Linked DNA regions of Homo sapiens: regions 1, 2 and 4 are each linked to region 3. The links are contacts of gene promoters, found by promoter capture Hi-C in blood cells and fetal thymus (Javierre and others, 2016). All regions are on one chromosome and are shown on one strand. Each heading gives the region's core, a stretch centred on a gene start or on the middle of the fragment in contact. The rest is flanking DNA. Distances are from core to core; before and after follow the strand shown. Region 1 overlaps SPARC (secreted protein acidic and cysteine rich). Region 2 overlaps G3BP1 (G3BP stress granule assembly factor 1). Region 3 holds the start of FAXDC2 (fatty acid hydroxylase domain containing 2). Region 4 holds the start of CLINT1 (clathrin interactor 1).

The links. Contacts are between HindIII fragments. The CHiCAGO score rates a contact against its expected background, and 5 or more counts as called.
Region 1: a contact is called between a fragment that was not itself captured here and the fragment with the promoter of FAXDC2 in region 3, in 1 of 17 cell types (M0 macrophages). The highest score is 5.1, in M0 macrophages.
Region 2: a contact is called between a fragment that was not itself captured here and the fragment with the promoter of FAXDC2 in region 3, in 2 of 17 cell types (erythroblasts and naive CD8 T cells). The highest score is 6.8, in erythroblasts.
Region 4: a contact is called between a fragment that was not itself captured here and the fragment with the promoter of FAXDC2 in region 3, in 2 of 17 cell types (naive CD8 T cells and naive CD4 T cells). The highest score is 6.4, in naive CD8 T cells.

The regions. Positions count from the first base shown.
Region 1 is chr5:151,673,672-151,681,492 of GRCh38, forward strand. SPARC (secreted protein acidic and cysteine rich) reads right to left here. Exons shown (of 10, transcript NM_003118.4): 2 at 2,461-2,530; 3 at 941-1,003. The coding sequence starts at 2,517. It overlaps CLMAT3 (colorectal liver metastasis associated transcript 3), which reads left to right and starts at 3,274. Exons shown (of 5, transcript NR_109873.1): 1 at 3,274-3,376; 2 at 5,549-5,665; 3 at 5,985-6,085. The HindIII fragment of the contact is 5,714 bases long and covers 1-4,557 here.
Region 2 is chr5:151,772,988-151,780,085 of GRCh38, forward strand. The region is part of intron 1 of G3BP1 (G3BP stress granule assembly factor 1); the gene reads left to right. Among named protein-coding and RNA genes, the nearest start is that of G3BP1, 4.6 kb to the left of the region's middle. The HindIII fragment of the contact is 3,564 bases long and covers 1,499-5,062 here.
Region 3 is chr5:154,844,935-154,852,027 of GRCh38, forward strand. It overlaps FAXDC2 (fatty acid hydroxylase domain containing 2), which reads right to left and starts at 5,669. Exons shown (of 9, transcript NM_032385.5): 1 at 5,549-5,669. The HindIII fragment of the contact is 21,500 bases long and covers 1-7,093 here.
Region 4 is chr5:157,854,463-157,861,622 of GRCh38, forward strand. It overlaps CLINT1 (clathrin interactor 1), which reads right to left and starts at 4,683. Exons shown (of 12, transcript NM_014666.4): 1 at 4,468-4,683. The coding sequence starts at 4,508. RefSeq lists enhancers at 4,313-4,894, 4,732-4,971. The HindIII fragment of the contact is 223 bases long and covers 3,028-3,250 here.

The sequences.
Region 1 (7,821 bases), core at 451-2,950, 3.2 Mb before region 3:
CTTATCTACTTCTAACCTGGAAGCCCTCACTTCTCAAGTTGTCTTGCCTTAGCGAACTCAACCAATGCACAATTTAGACATGTTGATTGAAGTCTCGTGTCTCCCTAAAATGTATGAAAGCAAACTGTACTCCCGACCACCTTGGACACATGTCTCAGAACTTCCTGAGGCTGTGTCACAGGCACATTCTTAACCTTGGCAAAGTAAACTTTCTAAATTGACTGAGATCTATGTTCACAAGAGGGTGTCAAGCCTCCACCCCTGCCAGCCACACCCAAGCATCTCCCCTTTCCTCTGTGTGTGTGTGTGTGTGTGTGTGTGTGTGTGTGTGTGTGTGCTTGTTTGTTTGTTTGTTTTTGAGATGGAGTCTCATGCTGTCGCCCAGGGTAGAGTACAGTGGCGAGATCTTGGCTAACTGCAACCTCCACCTCCCGGGTTCAAGCGATTCTCCTACCTCAGCCTCCCGAGTAGCTGGGATTACAGGCACCCGCCACCACGCCCAGCTAATTTTTTGTATTTTTAGTAGAGACAGGGTTTCACCATGTTGGCCACACTGGTCTTGAACTCCTGACCTCGTGAATTGCCTGCCTCGGCCTCCCAAAGGATTACAGGGATTACAGGCATGAGCCACCGCACCCGGCCTCCTCTGTTTTACGTTTGCAAAAACTGTGGGTAATCATGGAAGAACAACTGTTGCATAGCTTAAAAAACAAAAATTTTAAGGTCCTGGTCCCCAAACGTAGGGTTCCGTTGAAGGTTTGGGAAGCATTCAGGAGTGTGTCAGGATGTGGGATATACTCAGGGTTTGCATCTATGCTATGTGTGTACAGGGAGACGAATGCCCCACTCTAGCATTGAGACCCACAGCATCCGCCCTAATTTCTCAGGGCACAGATACAGGTAGAGAGGGGCTAAGGGGCTGCGGTCACTGCCCACATACCTCAGTCACCTCTGCCACAGTTTCTTCCACCACCTCTGTCTCATCAGGCAGGGCTTCTTGCTGCTGTTGGAAAGAGAAAGTAGCGTTCAGAGGGGTCAGGAATAAGGCCAGCTTCACCTCCAAAGTGCCTGTGGCCTCGGATACAGGCTAGGGGAGCTTGGAGAGCAGCTTACTGGAGATCCCCAAAGTTGTGCCTCATGGACTGCCATGGTGAGGGACAGAACAAAGAAGAAGCCAGTCATGTGAGCACCGTGGAACACTCAAGCAGCTCCCATTTTATATATTTTATATCCTAGGTGTCTACCTAAGATTTAGCTTGGAAAAGTATTTCTGCTGCTTTGAATTCTTATAAAGTCTGAAAATCACTGATCCAGACCAATTCTTTCACTTTACAGATAGGAAAATTGACATCCAGAGGGGATGACACTGTGAATTTTAACAGATGTCATCATCTTCCTCACAGTGTGATATTATTAGTAGTATTATTAGGCAATTTTTCTTGCCATTTCAACTTGGAGTAGGAGGAAGCAAGAAAACACACAACTTTGAGGCCCTTAGCTGGCTGGAGCTGCTTCAAAACTTAATGCCAACTTTGAGAAACTTTTGCCTCCATCTACCAGCCTGATCAAGATTGCCAGGGTCTGCCATCACTCCCACTTCTTAGTAAACAGAGGATGAGGGGATCACAGGTTGAAAGAAATTGCACTTTTTGCCTGCCCTGTTTCTTCCTCCTCTCCTTGTGAAGGCTTCCAGATGAGCTGTGGATAACTACTCCTGTCCCTGCATGCAATGCTTCGAGGAACTGTCTGTCAATCAAGGGGCCCCACTCTCACCTGGCCAAGAAGCTGGCTCAGGACCCAAGCTCAGCCAGATTGGCTCTCATTTTTTGAATTTATAAAAACCTTCTTGGCACATTCTCTCAAGATGTGAAAATTGCTGGAGTTGATTCATTCAGACAGCAATATCTCAGAGACTGTCCATTAGTTCTTAACTCCCAAAGCCTAGAGCTGCCCTTTTCCAGTCCTCCCCAAGGCCTTTAATATTATAATCTACCTCTGTATCTTCCCCTCCTTCCCCAATTTAGTCAGATTGAACTGTTGCTTACAACCAAACAACCCTCACTGTTTCAGAAGCCAACACATTCCTCTCTCTATAGCTTGAATCTCTTCTAATACCACCCCTACCAGAAATCCCCCACATCCTGTCTCCTGCCTGCTTGAATTCCTCATATGACAAAGAGGTCATTTCCTTCTAAAGCAATCCTAGTTCATTGCTGGGAGGCTCTGACTACTAAGAAGTTTATCTAACATTACATGGAACTCTCTCTTCTCTGATACCTCCACCCAATGGTCCTCATCCCAGTTTTTATCCCGAGCTTCCTAACTTAAGAAAAAAAAAAGACCACTAACTTGAAATGGGGAAGTCCCTGTTCCCTTTCAGCATCCAGGGCTGGCAGGCTCAGAACCCCTGGTGCTAGCGGTAGGAATGAAAACAAGAAGACATGATATTTAGGTACTTACAGGGGCTGCCAAGGCCCTCCCGGCCAGGCAAAGGAGAAAGAAGATCCAGGCCCTCATGGTGCTGGGAACCCTATGGGGAGGAGAGATTGAGAGTTCAGTGAGGGTGAGACTTCCTTATGGAGATTTCCTTCTGAATTCCTGATATGTGCAAGATAATGTTAGATGGTACAAGTTAAATGATAGTGAAAAACATGAGGAGGTTGGTTCCATTTAATATTCTTTCAATTCTGCTTATATGAGAAGAAAGTCTCAGTTTGGTGCCAAGATGTCTTAAACACCTCCTTTATACTCATCTATCTCCTTTTTTAACAAAAAGAGAATAAGCCTCCAGCTCAGAGCTTCCACAGGAAGTTATATCCAGCTGGAACTGAATCAAGTTGTTTTGTTTTTTTTATGTGTTTGTTTTTACAGTTTCCTTCTATTTATGACAAAGGTACACAGAGTTTTTTCCATTTATGGTAGTGATATAAAATCTGCTTTTGTAATACATTTATTAAAGTTTTTGCAAAGTGATTCAACTAAGGTGATGGGCTAACTAGTTAAGTTTGGGCAATGCCAAACCAGATCATCTTCAAGGTCCCTTCAATCCCTGATATTCTAAAATTATTTTTTTCCCTAAACCCAATCTCTCCTCTTCCTCCTCTGTCGCCTCCTCCCCCTCCTTCCTACTCCCTCTGCAATGGGAGAAGTTAATAGGCAGGAACTTCTTGCCAGTTTGGGACAATGAGATCCACATTCTAAAACAAAGAACAATAGTCTTGGAATGTAACCCATGGAAACTTGAGGGTGGCCACATTTTTCTCCATTCTACCCAGAAGAGACAGCACTTCTTTAGGTCCTGTACGGAAACCATCCAGATGCTTCCATGTGTTGCAGAGGGGATGTTAGCTGAGATCTAGAAAATACCTCTGTTCTGGTAACTGTTAAGGCCTCATTCTCTAAATGCCAAGCTCTAGACTCTAATACTCTCATGACTATAAGGGATTTTGGAGCAGTATCTCCTCTGAGGATTCAAAACTAAAATGCTATTCCTAACAGAGGCTCTGTGGTGGAGACATTTCATTTCTTGCACTAACTAAATGGCTTTTCATTCTCAAGTGACTTTAGAAAGTTCTTTCTTTTACTGATCTAAATGTGCCTCCCTCAAACTTTCTGATCTGTCTACCCCATCTCCCCTGCAGCCACAAAGAACAAACCTGCTCTCTCTACCCACAAATAACCTTCCATCAGGAGCAACAGTGGCCATGTCTTCCCTCTTTCTTCTCCCAAAACCTCCCTGTCAGGCTCATCATCCCTTATTTCTTCCAAGACTTCTCAACTGACCAAATGGTGGTGGGAGGTAACCCGGCATCATGGAGAAAAATACTCAGCTTGAAATTAAATGCCAGGGGGTCTTGTTCTACCACAGTAGTATCAAGTCTTTTGGTCTCTCTAGACCTTGGTTCCCCCATCTATCAATTGAAATGGGTAGACTAGGTGAACTTTGAAGTGGCAGCCTCGGTCCTTAAAATGCTCTTAAGACACCCCAAGCACATTCTGGTCTTGACACATATGGTCTCCTCTGGGATCATATGTCTTCACTTGTACTATAGCATTTGGGAAGCAGAAACAGGCAGAGGAAGAGCCCACTTCATAATGGTCCTTTCTTGGGCTTAAAGAGACACAAAACCTCACCCCCTATTGCACAGAGTGAATGAAGTAAAACTAACAGAAATGTAAAGGACCTGGGGGTTTGGTATTGCTTCACAATAACCCCAACTTCCAGAGGAGTCTAGTCTTCCCTTTTGAGGCAGCTTGTGGAATGTTCCTCCCCTCACACAGTTGTTCACTTGTTCCCCAGGCTTAAGTGGAAAAATCTCCCTTCTTGCTTCCCCTTTTGGAAGACGCAAGATAAATAACTCCTGCATGTGGCTTGGGACAAATGGAACAGAAAAGAAAACATCAAGGAAGGACTTGTCTGAGATAGTTTGAGGTTGAAGGATCAAAGTGAAATAGCAGCTAAAACAAAACAAAACAAAAAGTTACCCTGTCTGAGCTATAATGACAGGGAAGTCATGTTATTGAAGAAATAGCCCAGCTAGGACTGGAAATGTAGTAAGCTTCAGATTAGAAAGACAGGAAGACAGACATTTCCCTGAGTCTGCGTCCTTCATATGAGCAGAGTAACCGCGCTCCCCTCTGTGACCAGGGGAAGGTTTCGCTGGGCGGCTCTTCTGTCTGTCCTGCCTCCTCATCTTCCTGAATTCCTTTTCCAGCTGCACACTCACCCTCCCTGCCACCCCCATCCCTGCTGTTGCAGCCAGAAGAGAAAAATAACTCTAAGTCTTATAGTGCTGCTTCATAGTTTCTAAAGCACTGTCACATAACACTGTCTCCTAGAGCCTTCTGACAATGCTGGGAAGTAGGCAGACAGGCATGGAAGGGTTCTTAGTCCCACTGTCCTAATGGGGAATCTGAGGTTGAGAGGGAGGAAGCACTTGTCCAAAGTCATGCAACAATTCAGGCCCTCTCCAAATAGGCAAGCGTTCTCACTCATGGAGTTGGGGTGAGCCTAATAGGAATTACGCTCAGACAAGTGGGAGTGGGGGAGAAATGCAGAGAGACTGTTAAGAACAGAACGCAAAATCTTGGAATACACCTTAAAAGTTTTGGAAGAAAACTGTAAACACAAACACAAAATCTGGGTCCTGCCCAGCACCCGGTGCTACACCACCAGTCCAAGAGCACTTTTCCCCCAGATGATGAGATGGGAGGGAAGGGAAGCGGCTGAACTATTCCAGATGCACAGCCATCTCCCTGCCTCCCCACGAGATACCTCTCTGAGGCTCTCTAAACTACCACTGACCAAAGAGCCCTGTGTCCATCCTGCAAAGCTAATGGAGTATAACAGTCACCCCAGCAAGGTCAGAACACAGTATCAAACCCCAGCATTCAGAACTCACAGCTGTGATCCTTTGCCAATCAAACCTAGGTGTAGCGTGCCTGGCGAAAATTTAAATTCCCTTCATATAAATGACCAATATTAAACAAAAACTCCCTCCTTTGTATTTCTTTAGTCTGTGATGATGCATACATTTATCATTTTCAGGGTGTTTTCATAATCCAGCACCCCACTGGGGGCTCAAGTCACATATTTCTGCCCAATAGTACAGATGAGAAGACCAAGGCCTAGAGGAAAGGAGAAAACTGCCAACGGCTAACAGCAGTGAGTGAGTGACTGGGTGGCAGGGCTAGGGTGAGAACCCGTGCAACCCTACCCCACCACTGGTATGTCTCTACCTCTGCACACTATTTCCCTTGGCAGCTACCCGCTCCCAGGTGGTCACCTGAATGGGGCTCAGTTGGGCCTTGAACTGGCCTGAGTTCCTGGGAAGGAAAATGCCCAGGGCCAGGGGAGGAAGAGAAGGCATATTTCCCTTGGCATGGTGGCCATCAAATGCAGACAGTTTTAGCCCCCTCCCAGCCGCCACTGCCTCCTGTTCCGTACATCGAGTCCCTTCCTTTTGCCTTTATTTGCTCTGGAGACTGCTGAAAACCCGTCCTTGGCTGCCAGCAGGACCTGAAGCTGAGGTCACTTCTCTCTCTGGAAAGACTCTGAGGATGGAAAAGTACAGCCAGCCCCCAGGTTTGTCCCTCAAAACATAAAGGGCCTCCTTTGGGCTCTCCTTGGACGTTAAAAAGCCACTGAACGTTAGAACAGGGGGGATACCTCAGAATCATAGAATCATGGACTGTGGGTCTCAGAATGATAGACTTAGGATGTGAAGCAAAGAAACTGAGTTGCCATCATTAAATCTTATTTGGGTGGAAAGAACTTATGGAGTAATGCAACCCAACAGGACTTCCCAAGATGATGAACACATTCTATATCTACGTGGTCCACTATGATAGCTACTGGTTACAAGTGGTTACTGAATGCTTGAAATGTTGCCAGTGCAAATGAAGAACTGAGTTTTAAATTGTATTTCATTTTAACCAATTTTTTTATTTAAAAATTTTATGCAAAAGGACTGAGGCCAATCCAAAATATCTTACTTAACCCATACCTTGTTGAAATACTGCAATAGAGAATAGTGGAAAACATCTTTTTTTTTTTTTTTTTTTTTTTTTTTTGAGACACGGTCTCCCTCTGTCACCCAGACTGGAGTGTGGTTGGCGCAATCTCAGCTCACTGCAACCTCTGCCTCCTGGGCTCAAGTGATTCTCCCATCTCAGCCTCCCGAGTAGCTGAGATCACAGGCACTTGTGACTACACCCAGCGAATTTTTCTTTTCTTTTCTTTTTTGTAGAGATGGGGCTTCATTATGTTGCCCAGGCTGGTCTCGAACTCCTGACCTCAAGCCATCCGCCCGCCTCAGCCTCCCAAAGAGGTGGGATTATAGGCGTGAGCCACCATGCCCATCTATTTTAATCAACTTAAATCTAAATAGCCACATGTGGCTAGTGGCTACCATGGTAGACAGAGTGATAATAAACTATGAGGCAGTATAGCATAAAGGTAAGCTCATAGGCTCTGGAGCCAGAATATACAGGTTCAAATCCTGGCTCACCACTTAGTAATTGTATGACCTTTAGAAATCAACTTTACCTCTTGGGGCCTCAATTTGTTCCCCAATGTGTAAAATGGAAACAATAACATACCAATCTTTAAAGGCTCATGGGTGATTTACACAAGAGAATCCAAATAAAGAGGTAAGCAATGTTGTCGTTGGGAAGAGCATCTTATAAAGTCCGAGGTTCCCAGAATCTCCATCCCCCGAAAGAATTCAGTGCAAAATTCCAGTGCTTTATAAGCCCAGGGAGAAAGGGGTGTTTGGGTGGAACAAAGGACATATTGCCCCTGTTGGTCTGGGTAAGTCCAGCCTCCAGAGGATACAGTGACGAAGACCAGGCCCAGGGCTGGCCTCTTACTTGGGCAGCTGATACCAGCCAAGCATCTCACTCTCACTATTTGGCTTGGAAACAAGGGCTCCAAAAACACATGTTGCTGGTAAACAAGCCCAAAGAGAGGAAAACAAGCCTAGAGGCTAATAAAGGAAGCCAAGAGCCAGGCCCTCCAGGGAGTTGGGACTCGGAAGGAGCCTGGGGTCTGCTGACATGGGGACCGAGCCAGGCAGGCCAGAGAGGTGGCCACATGCAGCTACAATGGCACTCCTGCTCACACCCCTGGGAGCAGACACAGCAGCTCAGAGGTGGCCTCATGACGTGGAAGTCAGGAGAGCTGAGAGCAAGTCAGCATGTCTCCCAGCTCACTGTGCGAATTCAGGGGAGTCTCCTCTGCTCTCCAGAACTAACACCCCCAGCTTGTCTGTATAAGGTCAGTGCTCAAAATTATGTAAGCCAGAAAATCCTTTATTTCAA
Region 2 (7,098 bases), core at 2,031-4,530, 3.1 Mb before region 3:
ACAGGCCCTGGGTAGATGTGCCGCCACCGTAGCTTCTGGAAAAAAGTAGGGAAAACGATGAGTAAGTGCAAATGAACATGGACTGTGTTCCTCATCGGGTTTGAATCTCAGATTGCTGATGGGAAATTCCCGCCAGCGGGAAGTTAGGCTCCGGTTTTAGACGTTGAATTTTTTTTTCTCTACTTTTTTTTTAATTGGAGGAGACTTTTGCAGAAAGACCTTGAGAAGATTCACTTTATAGTTGAAGGGAATGAGGTGCAAAGCGACGAATTTAAGATCTCACTAGCATCTGTGGGTTAAAATACGGAATTGGAATAGAAAGGTTGGCGCCCAGTTACAGTATACTATTTGGACCTCTGTGGAGCGTGTCATGCTGGATGAATTACTGGTGTTGGAGATGTGTTGGAAAAAACAACTGTGACAGTCGAGATCTGTGGATGAAAGTTTGTGTACACTCCGTTTATTTAGCATTTACTCTGCTGGGTTCTTGTGTATATGCAGAAACAAGATGCTTTTCTTCAGGGACTGGAGCTTATATTTTTCTAGTAGTTACCATCTTTTAGATTATTTAAAAGCCAACATACTCCTTGGCTTAGTGAAATAAATCTTCTATGTTATAGAAACACTTCTATAAACATAAAGATTTCTATAATCGTGTTCTGGAAACCCTTTCTATAAACATGTTTCTATAACAGTATTATAATAATGTTCCAAGTAACATTTACTTGGAACTTTGCTGGTGTGGCGATTCCGGTTACTTGCCCTTACAGACTGGTTAACTATGGAATTAGCATTTTAACTTAGACTTAAAGTTGAGCAATTTAAGTTGTCAAATGGAAAAACACTAGAATGACCTACATTTAAACTGTTTAAGCTTGAGTCCAGCTAATTTTATTACTGCTTGAGGCAAAATAGAATGAAATTACCTTACACATTATTGAGGGAAAATTTCGTTAGTTTCTACTTAAAATATTAAAAAAATACAGTTCTTGGCCTCAGGCAAATGGTTATCACTTGGGCAGGAACATGAAAATTACGTGATTATTTCACAAACTGGTGCTCTAACTGATTACTTGTGCATTTATCAGGAACAAGTGAATTGAAGCAAATTGTGGTAATGTAAGGCTTGGCAAGGCTGCCCTACATCCCTACCAAGTCATACGTCAGTTTTGTTGGAGCTGCTTACCGGTACAAAAGTCTAAGCTTTTGTACCTCTTACAGGTAGAAAAGTAGACAGTTCTTTGTTTAACTCAGTTTGCTGTTCCTGAGCTGACACTGCACCAGGGGAACATTAGGAGATTTTGGTAATGTTTGTTTGTGACCTACTTAGAGCAGTTTTTCTTTTGTAACTTATGGTTTTTTTTTTTCCCACTCGTTCTAGTATTTTGCATAGAAAGTGAACGGCAGAAGGCAGTTTTAAGTTTTTGTAAAAGTTTGTGAATTTTATATCGTCCTTAGGACTGATGGGGCTAGTGTTAAAAGATAAAATTTAACATAAAGCTTACATTTGTGACTAAAGCCAATTTTATATTTTTTTTCTTTATTTTTGTCAGTCTGATAAAACTGCCCACTTGGTCTTTTAACATTTTGCAAATTGATTTTTTTTTTAACTTTCAGAATTTAAATAGGCATTGTATGTTTGTTTAATTATATTGTGCTTTGGCTTCCTTGGACGAAACTATTACTGACTTTACAAAGAAGAATGGATAATTGTGGAAGTAGGTAGGTCAAAAAAAAAAAGGAAAGCCTCGCCCGCCCCCCAGTAATTTGTCAAAAGCAAGTGGGAAAAATCTCTGGTAGTGCAGTACTGCCCTTCCAGTACTCCAGTACAAGCCCTGGAGTTGAATTTAGATTCAGCAACTATTATCTTACATGTAGTTGGTGATCACAATGTGGTGGCACACTAGGTTTATAATTTTATATCTCAGAAATCAGCTATTTACTTTTTTTAAAAAAGTATTCTTGGACATCCTGTCTGTCTTTAGTTGGGAAGGTCAAGTTGCAAGCCAGGTGATAGGGTTAAGAGTAGGAATAATTCACACACACGAATAGTGTCTTAATATTCTGTCTTACAAGGTGGAAAGCAATTTCAAAAAAATTGCCCTCACAGCCTGTAGCTTAGTAAATAAGGTCTTTAGGCGACTTTGTGATAGAGTCCCTCTTCTGTCAGGTGGCCAGTCTGTCATGTAATAAGTTCTTGGTATGTGTGTTGTATCTTAGGTACTTAATCAAAAGTAAAGATTAAAGATGATTGACAGAAATTTGGCTTCCTGGATGGTATACACATCTACTTAGTAGGGATGTAATCTTTGGTGGCTATTAACTTCACTGGCTATATAAAGCATCATTATGTATTTGTGTAACCTTTTGCATATTTAGAGAGTGCTTTCACACATCTTTGGTATTACCATACTTTTACTAAAAAGTGAATTGGAGCTCTGAAACCGAATTGTCAAAACTATTTTGAAAAGCATGTGGTACCTAATAGGGTACTATAGCCAGCTTATTTCCTTAATTGAAAAATCTTAGAGGGATTTTGAATCTGGAATGTATGAATGTGACACCTGCCTGCCCTTGCAGGCTTCTCCCATATGCTGTTTATGCAAAGCCATAGGCTGTGCCTTAAGTACACCCTTGTTTCTGCACTGAGGTTGCCTAGATTTCCCTGGAGTGTATCCACCTGTCTTGATCTGTTTAAGAATTTTGCGGATGAGCATTAGTATTAACTGTAACATATCTTTTCACGTGATGAGAAAGAACAAAGATTTTTTTAAATTGTGAACCTGAGTAGGTTTTAACTTTGGAGTGGGGAAGGGATACACTAAGATAAAAGATAGTTGTTAAGTATTCTGATTCCTGAAGTTTTTTTTCTTTCAGGAAAACAGTATTTTTGAGATAAAGTAAGATTTGTGGAAGAGTTGCAATAGAGAGGTCTTGAATACCCATTATCCACTGTTAACATCTTATGTAATCCAAGTACATTTAACAGAACTGAGAAATTAACATCGATAAAATACTGTTAATGAAAGACTTTATTTGGATTTCCTTAGTTTTTCTACTAATGTCCTTTTTCTGTTCTAGGATCCAGTCCAAGATGCCACATTGTATGTAGTCTCCTGATCTGTGTCAGTTTCTGTCTTTCCTTTTGTCTTTCGTGACCATGACACTTGATCTCATTTGGATTTGATGTTAAGGATTAGACTGAAGTTACAGATTTTTGGGGGAAGAATACCACAGAAATTACCCTTATCACATCAGATTGGGGGTCCATAATATATAACTGGTTGAATTTAACCTGATGATTTGGTTCAGGTGGTATCTGTCAGGTTAGTGTTTTTTTCCCCTTTAGATACTATTCCTTAGATGCTAGTCACCAAGTCCAGCTCACACTCAAGGAGAGAGGGGAATTAGGCTCTACTTTCTAGAGGGAGGAGAATGTGAATTTGTGGAAGTATATTAAAGCTACTGTTATTATTTTGGGGGAGATGCTTCGAAGCCATGGAAATAAAGTTCCCCTCCTTAATTTTAGCATTTTAATGGATCTCGTCTGCAGCTATTATTACTTCGGGGTTCTAATGGTGATTTTTTTTATTTTCCTCATTCCTTCTACAGTATAAATTTTCTGTGAGGAAGATTTGTGTATTCTTCATGTTTTTTCTTTTTTTCATTTATATCACTATAGACCACGGATATTAATTTTATTCTTTGGGTTGTAATCCACAATTATCCTTGCTGATGTTTACTTATTTTTGATTATTATTTATTTTATATTTTTATAAAATATCGTCCAGGCTGTCTCACACTCCTGGGCTCAAGCAATCCTCTTGTCTTGGCCTCTCAAAGTGCTGGGATTACAGGTGTGAGCCACTGTGCTGGCCACAGTTTATTTTGTTGTTCATGTTGTTCCAGCTTTTTTTTTTTTTTTTGGCTCCTTTGTCCTTTTGACACTTCCCTATCTTATCTGTTTTTTAAAAGCATGTTTTTTCTTTCATTAATTACCAGGTATTTCAGGCTCATCTTGCATTTTGCCTGTCTCAGGTCCAGAATCAACCATTTCTCCAAGGAGGCGTCAGGAAGAATTGTGAAGGGAGGTGACAGGTGGTAAATGCGAAGAGTTTGGAAAAATAGATTGACAGTAGGCCCAGTGATGTTGATACTTTTCTTGCTCTGAGCACAGATGTTGGCTTCTGTATTCATGTTACTCCAGTTCTGGGAAAAGATTTTGTTTCTAAATTCCCACGATTTAGAGAACCAGATATCAAATGTTTGAATACATGACATAATCCTGAAACAAAATTTACAAAAATTTAATATATTCTCAAGTTAGTACACACAAACACTTGCTGTTTTTCCTTGGTGTTTTTGACAACTTTTTTAAAGTAAAAAGACCACTTAAATACTATCGTACTCAGAATTAACATTTGACATTTTGCATTGCCCTCTAAGACTCCTTTTTTTCTATACGGGCTTCCATTCCCTTCCTTCCAGGGATCTTTTTCACATCTTTCCAGGCTGTTTTATTGATGGGGAATTTTTAAAAATAGCTTTATTGAGGTATAATTGACAATAAACTGCATGTTTTTAAAATGTACTGCCTGATAATTTCAGACACCTTTTGTAATCCCAGCTTCTCAAAAGACTGAGGCAGCAGAGAGGATTACTTGAGCCCAGATGTTTGAGGCTGCAGTGACCTATGGTCATGCTACTGCACTCCAGCCTGGGCGACACAGGAGACTCTTAAAAGAAGGTATACCCATGAAACCATCACCACAATCAAGATTGTGAACCTATCCATTACCCCCAAAAGTTTTCTCATGTCCCTTTTCCCTCTTTCTTGCTTGTTCCTTCCACCCTTCTCCCTGCAGGAAATCCTTGATCTTTTTATCACTGTAGATTACTTTGCGTTTTTTAGAATTTTTTTGTAAATACATTATGTTCTTTTTTTAATTGCTCAGTGCTAGTCTGTTGTGTAGGCATATCACAATTTTTTGGTTTACCTGTTGGTGGGCATTGAAAAACGGCAGAAGCTGTGTGTTTCCAGCTTTTTGACTGTTACAAATAAAGCTTCTGAACTTTGTGTACAAGTCTTTGTATGGGTATACGCCTTTATTTCTCTTGGGTAAATGCTTAATAGGGGAATGTTTAGATCATGTAGTAGATGTATGCCTAACTTTTAAAGAAACTCCCTGTTTTCCACAGTGGTTGTACCATTTTACATTGCCACCAGCGATGTTTGGGGGGTTCCAGTTCTGCCAGTATGTTGGCTAACAGTGTGTATGGTCAGTCTTTTTAATTTTAGTCATTGTGACAGGTGTTTAGTGGTACCTCACAGGTTTTAATTTGCATTTCTGTAATTGCTAGTGATCAGCATTTTTCATTTGGCATTCATATAATTTCTTTGGCGAAATATCTTTAAGTCTTTTGCTCATATTTTATGGGATTGGTTACTTAATTATTAATTTTTTTGTTTTGAGACAGTGTTTCGCTCTTGTTGCCCGGGCTGGAGTGCAGTGGCGCCATCTCTGCTCACTACAACCTCTGCCTCCTGGGTTTAGGTGATTCTCCTGTCTCAGCCTCCTGAGTAGCTGGGATTACAGGTATCCACCACCACACCCGGCTAATTTTTGTATTTTTAGTAGAGATGGGGTTTCACCATGTTGGCCAAGCTAGTCTCGAACTACTGACTTCGGGTGATATGCCCTCCTCGGCCTCCCAAAGTGCTGGGATTACAGGCATGAGAGTACTTTATATATTCTGGATAGAGGTATTTTAAAAATTAGAGATATGGGTCAGGCGCAGTGGCTCACACCTGTAATCCCAGCACTTTGGGAGGCCGAGGCAGGTGGATCACTTGAGGCCAGGGGTTCGAGACCAGCCTGGGCAACATGGTGAACCCTCATCTCTACTAAAAATACAAAAATTAGTCGGGCGTGGTGGTGTGTGCTTGTAATCCCAGCTGCTTGAGAAACTGAGGCATGAGAATTGCTTGAACCTGGGAGGTGGAGGTTGCGGTGAGCGCCACTGCACTCCAGCCTGGGCGACAGTGGAAGATTCCTTCTAAAAAAAAAAAAATCAGTCAGTCAATCAATCAGGTAAATGCCTTGCAAATATTTACTCCTAATCTGTGGCTTGCCTGCGTGCCTTTTCATTCTTTTGATGGTGTCTTTGCAGGGCAGATGGTTTTAATTTTGAGGCAGTCTACGTGATCAATTCGCTTTCTTCTTCATTTGCTTTTGGTGTGTCTAAAATCTTTGCTTAGTGTCATGCAAGTTTTCTTTAGAAGTTCAGTTTTGGGTTTTACACTTTGATTACACTGAATCATTTTGAGTTAAATTTTGTATGTGGTGTGAGACATGAATTGAGGTTCTGGTTTTTTTTTGTTTTTTCCATATGATATCTAATTGTTTCAGTACCAGTTGTTGAAGAGAGTATACTTTTTCCACTGAATTGTCTTTGCACTTTTCTTGGAAATATAGTTGTCCATGTGGATATGTTAGTGAACTCCATTCTGTTTCATGGATCCATTTGTCTCTTTATGTCTAGCCTGTGTATCTATGTACGGTATCTGGTATTTGTGTATACTAAAAACACTTTTAAATATATGTAACGTTATCACACAGTACATATTTGGCAACTGATTTTTCTTTTTAATAATGTTTTTGAGTTATGTGCTCGCTTTCTGGCAGGCATAAATAGGGTGACATATGTCTTGGTTTGCCAGGGACAGTCCTGATTCACTTCAGTTAACCTGACACTATTAATAGTAGTTGTTTTCAATCTTAAAAGTGCTCTCATATGGTTGTCTTAGGTATAGAAGTTTCCCTAATGTGAATAAACCACAACTTAATATCCATTCCTTATTTGATGGACATGTAGATTGTTATCAATGTTATACTTTACAGATAGGGTGGCAGTTATTTGTTTTTGTCTTGTGTGAGTTTGTTTTGTCTTGGGTGAGTTTCTTTTGTATATGTACCTAGAAGAGAACTGCTAGATTTTCATCAGAGTGTTTTTGATTTTATTAGATAGTGCAAAATTGTTCTCCACTGTGGTTGTACCAGTTGAGACTTCATCTTCAGCAGTCCTGTAGGCTCTTTT
Region 3 (7,093 bases), core at 4,419-6,918:
CGTACACCTTCTGGCCAAAGGGAAAATGATTGCTTACTTTCTGGTGGTGAGAAGGCTTCTCGGCTGTAAGAGCAGCAGCATTTATCTGTTGACATCTCATTTCATTAGAACAAACAAAGCATTTCCTGACATGTCATTTATTCTTTAGTTACGCCAATATGGCCATATGCAATTTCCAGAGATACTTATCTAGGTACTGAGTCCTCCAATTGTATTGTTCTGCTGAATATGTTATGCCAAAGCAGCTTGCTTTCTGTGCCTCTCTGCCCGCCTGCAGACATGTTTTCAGTTTTACATGAACATGGTCAGTCAGAAAGGTTCTAGGGGAGACCTCAAACATGGTAGGCAGTGGGTCTTCACCCAAAGAAGCTCCTTAACATTGTTTGCTAATGATAGTGTTCAAGTTAGAAATTTTGGCAAATAAAACTAGCAACAACATTTACTAATACACTGAAGTACCATAGTCATTACTTTCTGTGACTTGACTAATTCTTTTTTTCTTCCTTTTGGAGTGTGCCGTCTTAAGAACTGGAAGTTGGACTGGGCATGGTGTCTCATGCCTATCATCCCAGCACTTTGAGAGGCTGAAGCGGGAGGATTGCTTGAGTCAGCCTGGGAAACACAGGCCCTATATCCACAAAGTATTAATATAAAAAAAATTAGCCAGGTGTGGTGGCTCATGCTGCAGCCTGGGCCACAGAGGAAGACTCTCAAAAAACAAAACAAAAAACAAGCAAACAAAAAAAAACAAACTGGAAGTTGTATTAGAGCTCATCTATTCAGATGCCCCCATTTTCCAACTGAAGAAACAGAGGTGCAGAGGTATTTAGTATTTGGCTTCAAGTTGGACACCTATTTTTTTTTTTTTTTTAGATGGAATCTTACTCTGTTGCCAGGCTGGAGTGCAGTGGCGTGATCTCGGCTCACTGCAACCTCTGCCTCCCGGGTTCAAGCGATTCTCCTGCTTCAGCCTCCTGAGTAGCTGGGATTACAGGCATGCGTCACCACACCCAGCTAATTTTTGTATATATATATATATATTTTTTTTTAGTAGAGACGGGGTTTCACCATGTTGGCCAGGATGGTCTCGATCTCCTGACCTCATCATCTGCCTGCCTCGGCCTCCCAAAGTGCTGGGATTACAAGCGTGAGCCACCACGCCCAGCCTGGACACATATTAGTGGCAGAACTTGAATTCAGTGCTCATTATACCAACTGAGACTACAAAAGTATAGAATACATTGATGTTGAAGAGCACAGGGTGAGTGTCAGGGATTGAAAGGGACACAAAAGCATGAGATTGGCCTATATTAGCCATGAATAGTGAACTAGATAGTGTGTGTGTGTGTGTGTGTGTGTGTGTGTTAATACCAAAGGACACGTTTTCTCTAAAATACTAATCATTCTTTCAAGAAACATTTATCAGATGCCAGAGACAATGCTAGACATGGGATAGAAAGATGAATAAGACATGCTTTTTGCCCTATTTTATAACATCGTATAACTTTGATTTTCCAGAGAAAGTAGGAGGATAATAGCATACTTATTTTAGAATGGAATGCATTCAGAGGACAGAAAGAAATGAAGTGTACTAAAAGTAAATATTTTTTAAACATTTATTTTTTTAATTTTTAGAGATGGGGTCTCACTATTTTGCCCAGGCTGGTCTCAAACTCCTGGGCTCAAGTGATGTTCCCACCTCAGCCTCCCAAAGTGTTAGGATTACAGGCATGAGCCACCATGCCTGGCCGAAGGTTCTAATATTTTACAACAATGAATGGATACTTCCTTAAAGTGAATTTGATATTCTATTGTGAGTTTATCCAAATTTTATTTATTTATTTATTTTGAGACAGAGTTTCACTCTGTCCAGGCTGGAGTGCAATGACCCAATCATGATTCACTGCAGCCTCGACTTCCTGGGGTCAGGTGATCCTCCTGCCTCAGCCTCCCTAGTAGCAAATTAGATACTTTTTAGTGTGGTTCTGGTTTTTTGTTTGTTTTTTTTTTAGTGTGAACCAAGGATTTTATTTATTTTTATTTTTTAGAGATAGCATCTTGCTCTGTTGCCGAGACTGAAGTACAATGGCTCAATCATAGCTCACTGCAGCCTCAATCTTCTATGCTCAGGTGATCCTCCCACCTCAGTCCCCTGAGTAACTGGGACTACAGGTCTGTGCCACCATGCCGGCGAATTTTTAAAAAATTTTTGTAAACATGGGGTCTCCCTATGTTGCCCAAGCTGGTCTTGGACTCCTGGGCTTAAGTGATCTTGGTCTCCCAAAGTGCTGGGATTCCAGGCATGAGCCACTCTGCCCTGCCTATGTGGTTTTGTTGAAAGCAGATGATTCTCAGTATGCAGGCTTTTTATTAAAGAATCCCCAATCTAGATAAATGACACAGTGAAGCTATAGCTAATGTTTACAACTTCAAGAATCTGAGTAAAGGACATGGGAATAAGGTGAGGCTGGAAGGAATACAGACGGTTTAATCTTGAATTTTATTTGTCTACAGCCCAACTCTTTCAGATTTTCTTTTTTCTTTCTTTCTTTCTTTTTTTTTTTTTTTTTGAGATGGAGTCTCGCTCATGTTGCGCAGGCTGGAGTGCAATGGCATGACCTTGGCTCACTGCAGCCTCTGCCTCCCGGGTTCAAGCGATTCTCCTGCCTCAGCCTCCTAAGTAGCTGGGATTACAGGCACCCACCCCCACCATGCCTGGCTAATTTTTTTATTTTTAGTAGAGACGGGGTTTCACCATGTTGGCCAGGCTGGTCTTGAACTCCTGACCTCAGGTGATACACCCACCTTGGCCTCCCAAAGTGCTGGAATTACAGGCATGAGCCACTGCGCCTGGCCCAGATTTTCTTTCATATTCTTGTTTCCTGGATATTCTGCATGATTGATGAATGTTCCTTTTTTTTTTGAGACAGAGTCTTGCTCTGTCACCCAGGCTGGAGTGCAGTGGCGCGATCTTGGCTCACTGCAAGCTCCATCTCCCGGGTTCATGCCATTCTCCTGCCTCAGCCTCCCGAGTAGCTGGGACCACAGGTGCCTGCCACCACGCCTGGCTAATTTTTTGTATTTTTAGTAGAGACAGGGTTTCACCATGTTAGCCAGGATGGTCTTGATCTTCTGACCTTGTGATCCGCCCGCCTCGGCCTCCCAATGTGCTGGGATTACAGGCGTGAGCCACCATGCCCGGCCTACTGAATGTTCCTATTTTATAGATATAAATACATCACCTTTATGTGAATGTGTATTGTTTTGTAAACAACTTGTAAAATTGTTGAGACAATTTACTCTTAGAGGGGGGAGAAAAAAGACCTCATGTTCATCTGGTCTACCCCTTCCATTTTATAAGCTAAGGAGGAAGCCCTAGTTAGTAGAAATGACTTGCTCCAAACTCCACATGGTTTCTGGCAAAATCTAGGCTTCTTAACACTTTGCCTAGTGCTGTATGTATTTTGGGAATAGCATAACTTCTATTTCATAAGAAATGACACAGGGAGAGGGCAACTGACCCAAAGATTAGAACTCCCCTTACTTCAGCCTCTGCTCTCAGACTGTATGCTAGGAAAAAGCTGAGCAGTCGACCTCCAGGGCTGAGGAGACTGACCTGTAATGTAATTACACAGTTTAAAGCCTCTGGTGAAGAGGGTTTTGAGGAGCTGCTATGACTCAACATCTGTACTAATCTGAGGCTTATATAGAAGATAGAGTGGCCGATATTCATTTAAGAAGATGAAATGCGGCCAGGAGCGGTGGCTCGCATCTGTAATCCCAGCACTTTGGGAGGCCGAGGTGGGCAGATCACCTGAGGTCAGGAGTTTGAGACCAGCCTGGCCAACATGGCGAAACTCCGTCTCTACTAAAAATATAAAAATTAGCCGGGTGTGGTGGTGCACGCCTGTAATCCCAGCTGCTCTGGAGGCTGAGACAGGAGAATCGCTTGAACCTGGGAGGCGGAGGTTGCAGTGAGCCAAGATCATGCCACTGCACTCCAGCCTGGGCGCCAGAGCAAGAGTCTGTCTCAAAAAAACAAAAAAAAACAAAGATGAAATGCGGCTGGGCACGTTGGCTTATGCCTGTAATCTCATAACTTTGGGAGGCCGAGGTGGGTAGATCACCTGAGGTCAGGAGTTGGAGACCAGCCTGGCCAACATGGTGAAACCCCATCTCTACTAAAAATACGAAAATTAGCTGGGTGTGGTGGCGGGCACCTGTAATCCCAGCTACTTGGGGGGCTGAGGCAGGAGAATCTCTTGAACCCAGGAGGTGGAGGTTGCAGTGAGCTGAAATCGCGCCACTGTACTCCAGCCTGGGTGACAGAACGAGATTCCATCTCAAAAAACAAAAAAAACAAAAACAGAAGATGAAATGCATGAAAGGAAAGGTTAAAAATGATTCCCATGGGCCAGTTTTAGTAATACTCTCTTCACTCCTTTTGCTGCATGGTACTTGCACCCTTTGAGCTTACTGTTCTGCTTGATTGCATGTCCATGAGGCCGAGAATCTGCCTGTCTTGTTTACCACGAGATCCACAGAATCAAGCCCAAGCCTGGCATGTAGAAGATACTCAAGAAAGATTTGCCGAATAAATAAGAGATACACGAATCAAAAGCATTGCTTTTTGCCCTCAAAAAGTGTTCAACATTTGCTATGGAACATTTTAGCACCATTCCCTTGTGCTAATTACTTTCGTAACTAAAGTTAGAAGCTGATGCTCAGTGCATCTGTGTTTTAGCAAATTGAATTGAATCTGTATATCCCACTCAAAGAAATTTAATTGGAATTGCACATGAAACTGAAGCAACCCACAAATCAGCATCTTGTCTTGCTTGCCTTAAGCCCCAGAAGGTCCTGAAAGCCACTGTTCTATTGTTCATCTCCACCTACACACTTTACTGTATGCCCTTTACTCAATAACCTTCGTGGAGTGTTTCCATAGGTACTATCAAGCCACTAACGATTTCACAACTGGAGCCACTGTTGGTAAATCCAAGTATGTTGCATCAAAACAGTTTCAACCTACTTGTCTAGCTCATAGCCCACACATCTATCCAGAGACTTTAAAACTGTTGTATTTTGCCCCATACCTTCCTGGTGATGGCAGAGTAGAGATGAGAAGCAATTAGGCAGCAGTTGCTTCCCAACAGTCTCTTCCAGTTTGTTCTGCCTCTCATTTGAGTTCTGAATTAGGAGTTGCTCCTTTACAAATGGTTTTAAAGTCAAACAATTACTTGTCCATTACAATCACCTGTCAATTGCTAGAAAAATTAGACTACTGAGGAGGTAGATGGTACAAACACAGGCAGAGGATACAGACATTAGTAAGAGACAAGGAGGCGACTGCACTACAGCAATGTCCTAGGACAAATTCTAACCCTGCCATCTAACCCTGTTTAGAGGCAAATCTAACCCTGCCATAAGTAGAGAGGACAGGGTGGTGGCAGAGGTGGGAAGAGTGTTGTTTTGCCCTTACTTTAAGTGAACCTGGACATGTCCTGACCTTTGCAAACACCACCCCTCCCCCGTAGTTCCCACTTACCTCTGCAGTGGGCTGTGTCCAAGCTGCTGAGGTCCTTGCACAGGTCAAATCTAAGTTCTCTTCCCTTTCAGCCCCCGCTTTGGTGGCTGTTGCTGCTGCGGCTCTGCTGCAGGCTAACCTTGTTTTTGCTCGGGTGGGAGGCTGGCCATGGTGATCTCATTACAGAGCTGCGTACTGGCTCGGACCAGGCACGTGATGAAAAAAGTTTGGGTCTGTGTGGGCTGGAAACAAAACACCCTTCTTTCCAGAGGGCATGTCCTTAAAGCGGAAAGGGAATCTAAGCTCAAGCAGGAACTTGAAAAACGTGCATTTGGCCAAACTCTGGGCTTCCCTCCCCCTGCCCCCTTTTTTTCTTTTAAAAAATTTTCTCCATCATCTGCAACTTAAGAAAATGTCGCTGTCCCATAGGAGGAGGCAGATTCAAGAAAAGATGTGGGTGTCAGATAATGGCAGGTAGTACAAGTTGATAAAAAGGTGACAGAGACCAGAGGATCTCATTTTCTTTTTTTTCATTGCTTCTTTTCCTGTGGAGGGCAGGCAAGGGAGGAGAGATGCATCAGCTATTTCTAGTGAGTCTAGATGCAGGAAAGGCATGCCTGTGGAGGGTAAATTTGCACTGTGATTGAAATAGGGGAACTTAGGATACAGGACCCATGACATGAAGTGAGGAGCACTTTGGAAAAAGAGCTGCTTTTAAATTTCTGAAAACTTTTTAAATAAGCAAATGTGCAAATGATATAAAATACAATAGGGTCAAAAGAATGTACAATGAAAAGTCTTTTTTTAATTTCTCCTCAGTCCCCTTTTTTTCCTCCCAAGAGACAACCTCTGTGACCAGATTTTTGTATATCCTTCCAGAGCTTACCTCTGTAAATAGAAACATGTGTAGGCCTTGTGCTTCTCCTTTAGCAACAGCACCATAGTATGTTTGTTGTGCACCTTGCTTTTTCCACTTAACAATCAAACATGGAGATTGGCTAGGCATGGTGGTGCTCACCTGTAGTCCCAACTATTTGGGAGGCTGAGGTTGGAGGATCACTTGAGCCCAGGTATTTGAGACCAGCCTGGGCAGCACAGGAAGACTCCTTTCTAAAATAAACAAAACTCAGAAACTTGGCTGGGCACGGCGGCTCACATGTATAATCTCAGCACTTTGGAAGACCAAGACGGGAGGATCACTTGAGGCCAGGAGTTCAAGACCAGCCTGGGCAATGTAGCAAAACCCCATTTCTACTACATATACAAAAAATTAGTAGAGCTTACTGGCACATGTCTGTTATCCCAGCTACTGGGGAGGCTGAGGTGGGAGGATGGCTTGAGCCCAGGAGTTGGAGGCTGCAGTGAGCTATGATTGTGCCCTGCACTCCAACCTGAGTGACAGAGTGGGACCCTGTCTCTAAAAAACAAAACAAAATAAAAAATGCCGGGTGCAGTGGCTCATGCCTGTAATCTCAGCAATCTTTGGAAGGCTGAGGCAGGAGGATTTCTTTTTTTTATTTTTTGAGATGGAGTCTTGCTCTGTCACCCAGGCTGGAGTGCAATGGC
Region 4 (7,160 bases), core at 1,889-4,388, 3.0 Mb after region 3:
TGGTCCCAGCTGCAGTGTGCATGTTTGCATCACTGTGCTCCAGCCTGGACAACTGAGTGTGACCCTGTCTCAAAAATAAAAAATAAAAAGAAACCAGACTACTAATCCAATAAATAACAAATGTATTGCCTGTTAAAATAAATGAATATACTATTCTTTATAAAAGCAAAAGTTTCTCCCTCTGGAGTCAGGAGACTAGAACAGCAGTTTCTACAGCTCTATTACATTATCTAAACATTTAGGAACTAAAACCAAGCAAATATACATCAATAAAAATCAACTTATGAGGGAAAATGCAAGCTATGCTTAGGAGAATAACTTAAAATGGACTACCCATAGCTGTTGCCTTAGGACCTTAGCCAGAGCTGTTTGAATCACTATCAAAAAAAGGGCCACTGAGGCTGGGCAAGGTGGCTCATGCCTGTAATCCCAGCACTTTGGGAGGCCGAGGTGGGTGGATCACCTGAGGTCACAAGTTTGAGACCAGCCTGGCCAACACAGCAAAACCTCAGCTGTATGAAAAATACAAAAATTAGCCAGGCATGGAGGTAGACGCCTGTAATCCCAGCTACTCGGGAGGCTGAGGCAGGAGAATCATTTGAACCCGGGAGGTAGAGATTGCAGTGGGCTGAAATCACGCCATTGCACTTCAGCCTGGGGGATAAAGTGAACTGTCTCCGAAAAAAAAAAAAGGCGGGGGGGGGGGCGGGTCACTGATGAAAGAGATTTACCACTAATATTACTCCTTGCAAGGAAAGAGAAGGATTCGCTGAGCTTGAACAAATAAGTAGCAGTTTTGATCTACCACTACCATGTCACCTTCATTACATTCCTCAAATCTAGAGAGAAAATAGAACTGCAGCAACTTTCAATTTTACCATGTATAGGATGACAAAATATAAACATGTCCAATTTTATTACAGCCACAAGTAAAGATAGGTCATAGGATGACAATGATTAAGCTAGTGCTCCTAGTTGGTGGGAATGGTGCCACTTATCCTTTCCTGCCACATCGCCTTTTATGCAACTTGACGAGTGGGAAGATACTGGCATTCCAAGCTCTGGCAGGCCTATGGCTTTATCTGCTTCCCTCAGTTCCACAATGTTCTGCAAAACAAATCCCTCTACTGCCACCAGGAGGTGCAGCGATTGTGGAAAATATACCCCCACTTCCAGAAAAAGTCTTCAAGGTCTCAAAAGCCAGTGTTTGAAATACATCATTATCACTTTGAGTAGCTGAGATGGGTGGATCACCTGAGGTCAGGAGTTCAAGACCAGCCTGGCCAACATGGCGAAACCCCGTGTCTACTAAAAATACACAGATTAGCTGGGTGTGGTGGCAGGCACCTGTAATTCCAGCTACTAGGGAGGCTGAGGCAGGAGACTCGCTTGAACCCCAGAAGTGTAAGCTGCAGTGAGCTGAGATCTCGCCACTGCACTTCAGCCCCGGGAACAAGAGCGAAACCCCATCTCAAAAAAAAAAAAGAAATACATCATTACACTTAAGAGCCGCTACCATACTGAATCTAAGAGTGGCTCCAGGAAACACATTTTTCAGAGTACATTTCTTTTTCTGAAGTAAAACCTCACTGGGTATCAATATACACTAAAAGTCCTAGTCTTCCTGAGTCATGGTCTTATTTATTGCATAAAATATTTAAGTATAACATTTATTGATTACCACTTTTTAAGAAAATTTCCCTTTTCAGCCTAAATTGTCTACAGAGGATAATGGCTCCAAAATTTGTCTGCTATTGTAAAAACTAGTTCCAACTATTTTTCCTTGATGGAAATGCATTTCTCCAATAGCCATCAAAGGTGGAAAAAGTCTTACTCTAGCCAGGTCCCCTCATTTTACAGATAAGGAAGGCAAAGTCTGGAGATTCATGTGATTCTGCCTCAAATCATACATACAGCTAATTAAAAACGTAATGCCAGAATATGAACCAGATAGTTAAACCCCTAACCTTTCTCTCATAGAAGCCCTCATTCTATTGATCCATCTATCTGAATAGCCCTTAATCACGTCACTGCTTCTTCATTTGCAAGTTCCTTCATCATTTTATACCTCTGATAATCAGACCAACCATTCTATGGATGCACGTCTATTATGGCATTATAAGGTGCACAGTCTAACAGATCCACGGTTCTGTAAGATGCTTACATTTGGGGGGAAGAATTTCTTCTCTTCTTGCCAGTGAAAAGATGAAAATTAAAATCCCGAGTACTCATCAGTAAATCAACCTCATGTTCTAATCTTAATATGTGTCAGACACCCACAAAAGCCTTAAAAAGTCTTTGGTGACAACATTCTTCTATGTTCTTGAATAATTTGGTTCAAGTCTACATCCTAAATTGGGTAGTAAAAAGATAGATAATATTTTTCAACAATAGCTTTTCCTTTAGATAACTACTTACATGGCAAATTTAACCTAAAGCACGTGAAGATTAGTAACAAGTGTGATAAGCAAATATGAAAGGTACAACAATAGTAGGAATATTGCCTCGATTTCTGTCTTACGAACAATGTACAGCCTCTTCAAATTTTTGAGTACCACAAATTTGGTCCTCTAAGAGAACAAGGTGTTTCTTAATGGTTTTATTCTTCTGACCTCTGACTGAGAAATAAGGAGGCAGTGCCAGGCACGGTGATGCATGCCTGTAGTCCTGGCCACTTGGGAGGCTGAGGTGGGAGGATCACTTGAGCCCAGGAGTTGGAGGGTGCAGTGAGTTATGAACACACAAAAGAATGAGACCCCATCAAAAAAAAAAAAAAAAAAGGTAGCTTTTAGTCTTCTTTTGGCCTTTAAAAAACTATTTAAGTTGATATCCTAATCTTTACACAATATACTAAAAAAATGCCAATGAACCTAGATCTGGAAAAGATCTAGTTTATTTCATCTTCGGTAAGCAAAAGCAAAGAATATATAAATAGCTAAATAGTCCGAAATAAATAGCTGAAGCCTTAATAGCCAAATGAGTTGTTATAAAGGAAAATTATTAAAGCAAATCACTTTTCAAACTTGAAGCTTCTTTCTTAAAGAGGTTTATTTCACTCTAAATGCAAAACATTTGCTAGTTTCAAAAGTACACTAATATAAACATATTCTGTTAAGGGCTTTATATGCAATACAATCCCTTAACCCTTAAGCCTCACAACAACATTCTAAGGTAGGTATCGTTGCATTTTCATTTTGTACCAGAGAAAACTAGGGCACTGTGAGGATAAGTAACTTCCCCAAGGTTATAAAGCTTGAACCCAGCTTTGCAGGTTCTGAAACCTGTGCTCCTTAGGCACTCTATTGCCTTCTTGGTAGCACAGAAAATATAAAAATATGGTCAAGCTCTAAGTTCTATCTGATGTATCAGACAAGGCACTGGAAATTACTTTGTTTCCTGGTGTCAAGAAAACAGTTTGCTATCTATACTTCCTGATTTTAGGTTAGGTGGGTGGCACAAATCAACTGTTTTTCTCACCACACTTATTGCATAATCATTAAAGCCCCAAAGGAAGAGGACTGCTTAAATTCTTAAACTTTATTTCCTGCTGGCCTAGAAGACCTTACTTAACCACTGTTATACCTGATATACTCATTTTAAAAGTTAAGGTTTTCCTTGTGCAAGTAAGAGACTAAAGTTATTTCAGTCTTAAAGGAAATCAACTACGTACTGGTCGTTTTACCTGCTTTTAAAAGCAGATCAACAGGATATAAACCTGGGTTGTTTTTTTCCTTAAGAGGACATTTCTTAATGACCTCTTAATTTAATCGAATGGAACAAGTAGCACACCAAAAATGATGTGTAGTGGAAAAAGAAACAGAAGAAAAAATCGCAAGAAGTCATATAGTGATCTACTTTCACTAGTGTTAGAAAAGCAAAGGATGAGTGTCTTCTTGAGTAACTTCAGGCTGACCACAATAGCCACTTGTTACACTACTACCACCCACTCCAACACTTCAGGTTCATTAGGAATTAAGAGGAGGCAAGGAAGATAAAAGACACACCCCAACCAGGTCTAAGGTCTCTCCGTACTACACCTTGAGGGACACAGGGAACCAGTGCATTGTGCCCCCCACCCCCAAACCTTCCCTGCTCCCCAGGAGGCAAAGCCCACGGCCTGGGGCCAAGACAGTCCTCCGGCCAGGGCAGTGACCCAGCGCCAAACAACCCGCCCCTTATGACCAAAGCGTCGGCACCCAGGGGTTGGAATAGGGGAAGGGACGGGAAGGCCTGGAAAGGAGAGAAGGGTGGCCAAGAGGATGTTTTTTTTTAAAACGAGGGAGGGTCCCTCCCCAGCCTCGCCAGCGGGGATGAGGCCCGGGGCCGGGAAGGAGCGGGCCGCCGCCATGATGGGGCTGGCAGAGCCAGGGGGCGTGACGTGGGCAACCCCTAGCCCAAGGCCAGCTCCTTCTCCCCCTCCCCCCTCCCCCACGTGGGCCTCGGCCACAACTGCCCCCCGATACTCACGCTTTGTCCACCAGCTCGCGCACCTTCCACATGTTCAACATCGTGCCCCGCGCGGGACGGTCCGCCGCCTCCCTCTCCTGCTCCCCACGGACCCCGGAACACTTCCGTACCGGGGCAGTTCCAGGCCGGGGTCACCGCCGCCCGCCGCCTCGAACTCCCCCAGTCAGCTCCTTCCTTTGCCACAGCAGCGGCGCCGCCGGTGACACGTCGAGACGCGGCAGCACAGGCGCTGCGTGGAGCGGAAGTGTCCGACTTTCCGCCGCTGCGCGCGGGGCACGCCGGGACTTGTAGTTTTCCCTGAGTGCCGAGCTCGGCCGGTTGAGTTGGGAGAGCTGAGAGGTTGAGTTGGGAGAGCTGAGAGGAGTTGGGATGGTTTCTCTTAAGCTTTCCCAGTCCCCGGCCCCAGACCTACCGAGCCAGAAATTTTGGAGGTGGGGCCCAGCGATCTGTGCTTTTACAAATCCTCTAGGTGATTCTGATCACGCTCAAGTTTCAGAACCACTGGTGCAGGGTCTAGTCACACTCAAACACTTTTCAAATGTAAGGCAGTATTACTATGTTATTAGTAATGATTATACAGAAGTATGATTGGCATACGCATTCCTCATCGACAGACACATCGCTGTATTTATTTCCCAATGCCCAAGTACACTTAGATCTCTAGGCCTTAGTTTCCACCCCTGTAAAATTGAAGAACTTGTATTCTAAATCCTTTTCCGCTCTAATTCTATGATACAATGTTTTATATTTAGACAACTACCTGAAATCCTTGTTAAATGCTTTACTATAAACCTCAGAAACTCAGTTCACACTCCACGGGAAACTAAAAAGCCAACATTATATATACACGCACACATACACATACATATGACAGGTTTGTGTTTTTTAAGGATAAATATGCACATTGCTTCCATTGCTTTGTTGCAATGGTTGTCATCACTTCCTTCTCTACTTACTCATTTTTATCAATGCTCATGTTAAAGCTACAAGCAACCTTAAGTTTCATTTGATCCATCTGCTGAAATTTTACAGTTCTTTTCATTCTACAAATATTTATTGAGCATCTTGTATGTTCCAGAAGTGGGGAATATAGTTAAAGACCCAGCTCTCTTGGAATTCAAACGTAATTGGAAGAAACATATAATAATCAAGGAAACATTTAAGATAATTGCATATAGTGTAATTGCTTAGCGGGTTCTTTCTGCCCACTTTACAGATAAAGTCAATTCACTGCGACCAAGTCATTGCAGTGAAGAGTTTGACATGAGGCTGGCCATGCCACTTGAGAGACAGAGTTATTACTCAAATCAATCTTCCTGAACATTTGGAAGCTAGAGTTTTTCAAAGATAGTTTGGTGAGCAGAGGGTTAGGGCATGGGTGCTGCTGATTGGTTAGGGATGCAATCAGAGGAGTATGGAAAATGGTTCTCCTTTGCTGAATCGGCTTCTTGATGGAGGGCCAGCAGAGGAGTGGCTGGTCTGGGTGGGGTCATCCGTTTGTCAGAAATGCAAAAGCCTGAAAAGACGTCTTAAAAGGCCAATCTTAGGTTCTACAATAGTTCATTACAGGCCAGGCACAGTGGCTCACGCCTGTTATCCCAGCATTTTGGGAGGCTGGGAGGCCAAGGCAGGAGGATCACTTGAGCCCAGGAGTTTGAGACCAGCCTGGGCAGCAAAGTGAGATCCCCCTGCCAGCCCAGTCTTTAAAAAAAAAAAAAAAAAAAAAAAAAAAGCCAGGCGTTGGGGCACACTCTTGTGAGGCCAGCTACTTAGGAGGTTGAAATGGAAGGATCCCTCGAAAGGATCAAATAAAGACTCCAATTCACAAAGAAGTGAAATTGATGGTTGCTAGTCATGAAGCTAGGTAACAATAATCCCAAATAAACAACCTCGGACCCTGGTCCCTCAAGTGAAACCACCTCTTTTCTATTTTCTTTTTCTTTTTCTTTTTTTTTTTTTTTGAGCTGGAGGTCTCACTCTGTTGCCCCAGCTGATCTGAAACTCCTGGGCTCAAGCAATCCTCCCACCTCAGTCTCTCAAGTAGCTGAGACTACAGGAAACCCTCTCCAAGTTGCATTCACTTAATTACCGAAAGCAGCTTTGAAAAAAGTTTCAGTAAGGCTTTCGGATTGAGGCCCCAAGAGAAAGAAGCAAGGTTGAAGGAATTGACAGGCAGAAAATTACAACAAGCAGAAATCCAAAGTTATCTCAGAGCTTTGTAATGGTAGGAGTACTTGGGCTGATATGAAGTGAGTTGGAGAGGTGGGTGGGGAGAGGCAGGTAAAGATGAGCAGAGATGGGTAGAGGAATAGGGCTTTCAAATAAGAAGTTTGTGTTTTTTTGTTGAAAAGACTATCCAGCTCAAGATCCCAGAGATGGAATGTGGCCAGAGGAGATAAGAAAGAGAAACTACTTTGCATAAATAAGAGCTCAGCAAGTTAACTTTCAAACAAGTGAGTCCAGAGTACACCTGCAGAACGGGCCTGGCCCAGAAACAACCACCTTCCCTCCCCTGGGCCTGTTTGGGTGTTCACAGCAGGGCACTGTCAGCCTCTTTGCTCATTCCAAAACCAAGTTTGCATACGTCTAGACCCATCCTAGAGTTGTCACCTGTGACATTTGCACAGTCAGCTGGAGCCATCTGGAATGTAAAGCCAAAAAATCTGCCTGTCCGCTTCTAATTCAAGAGAGCC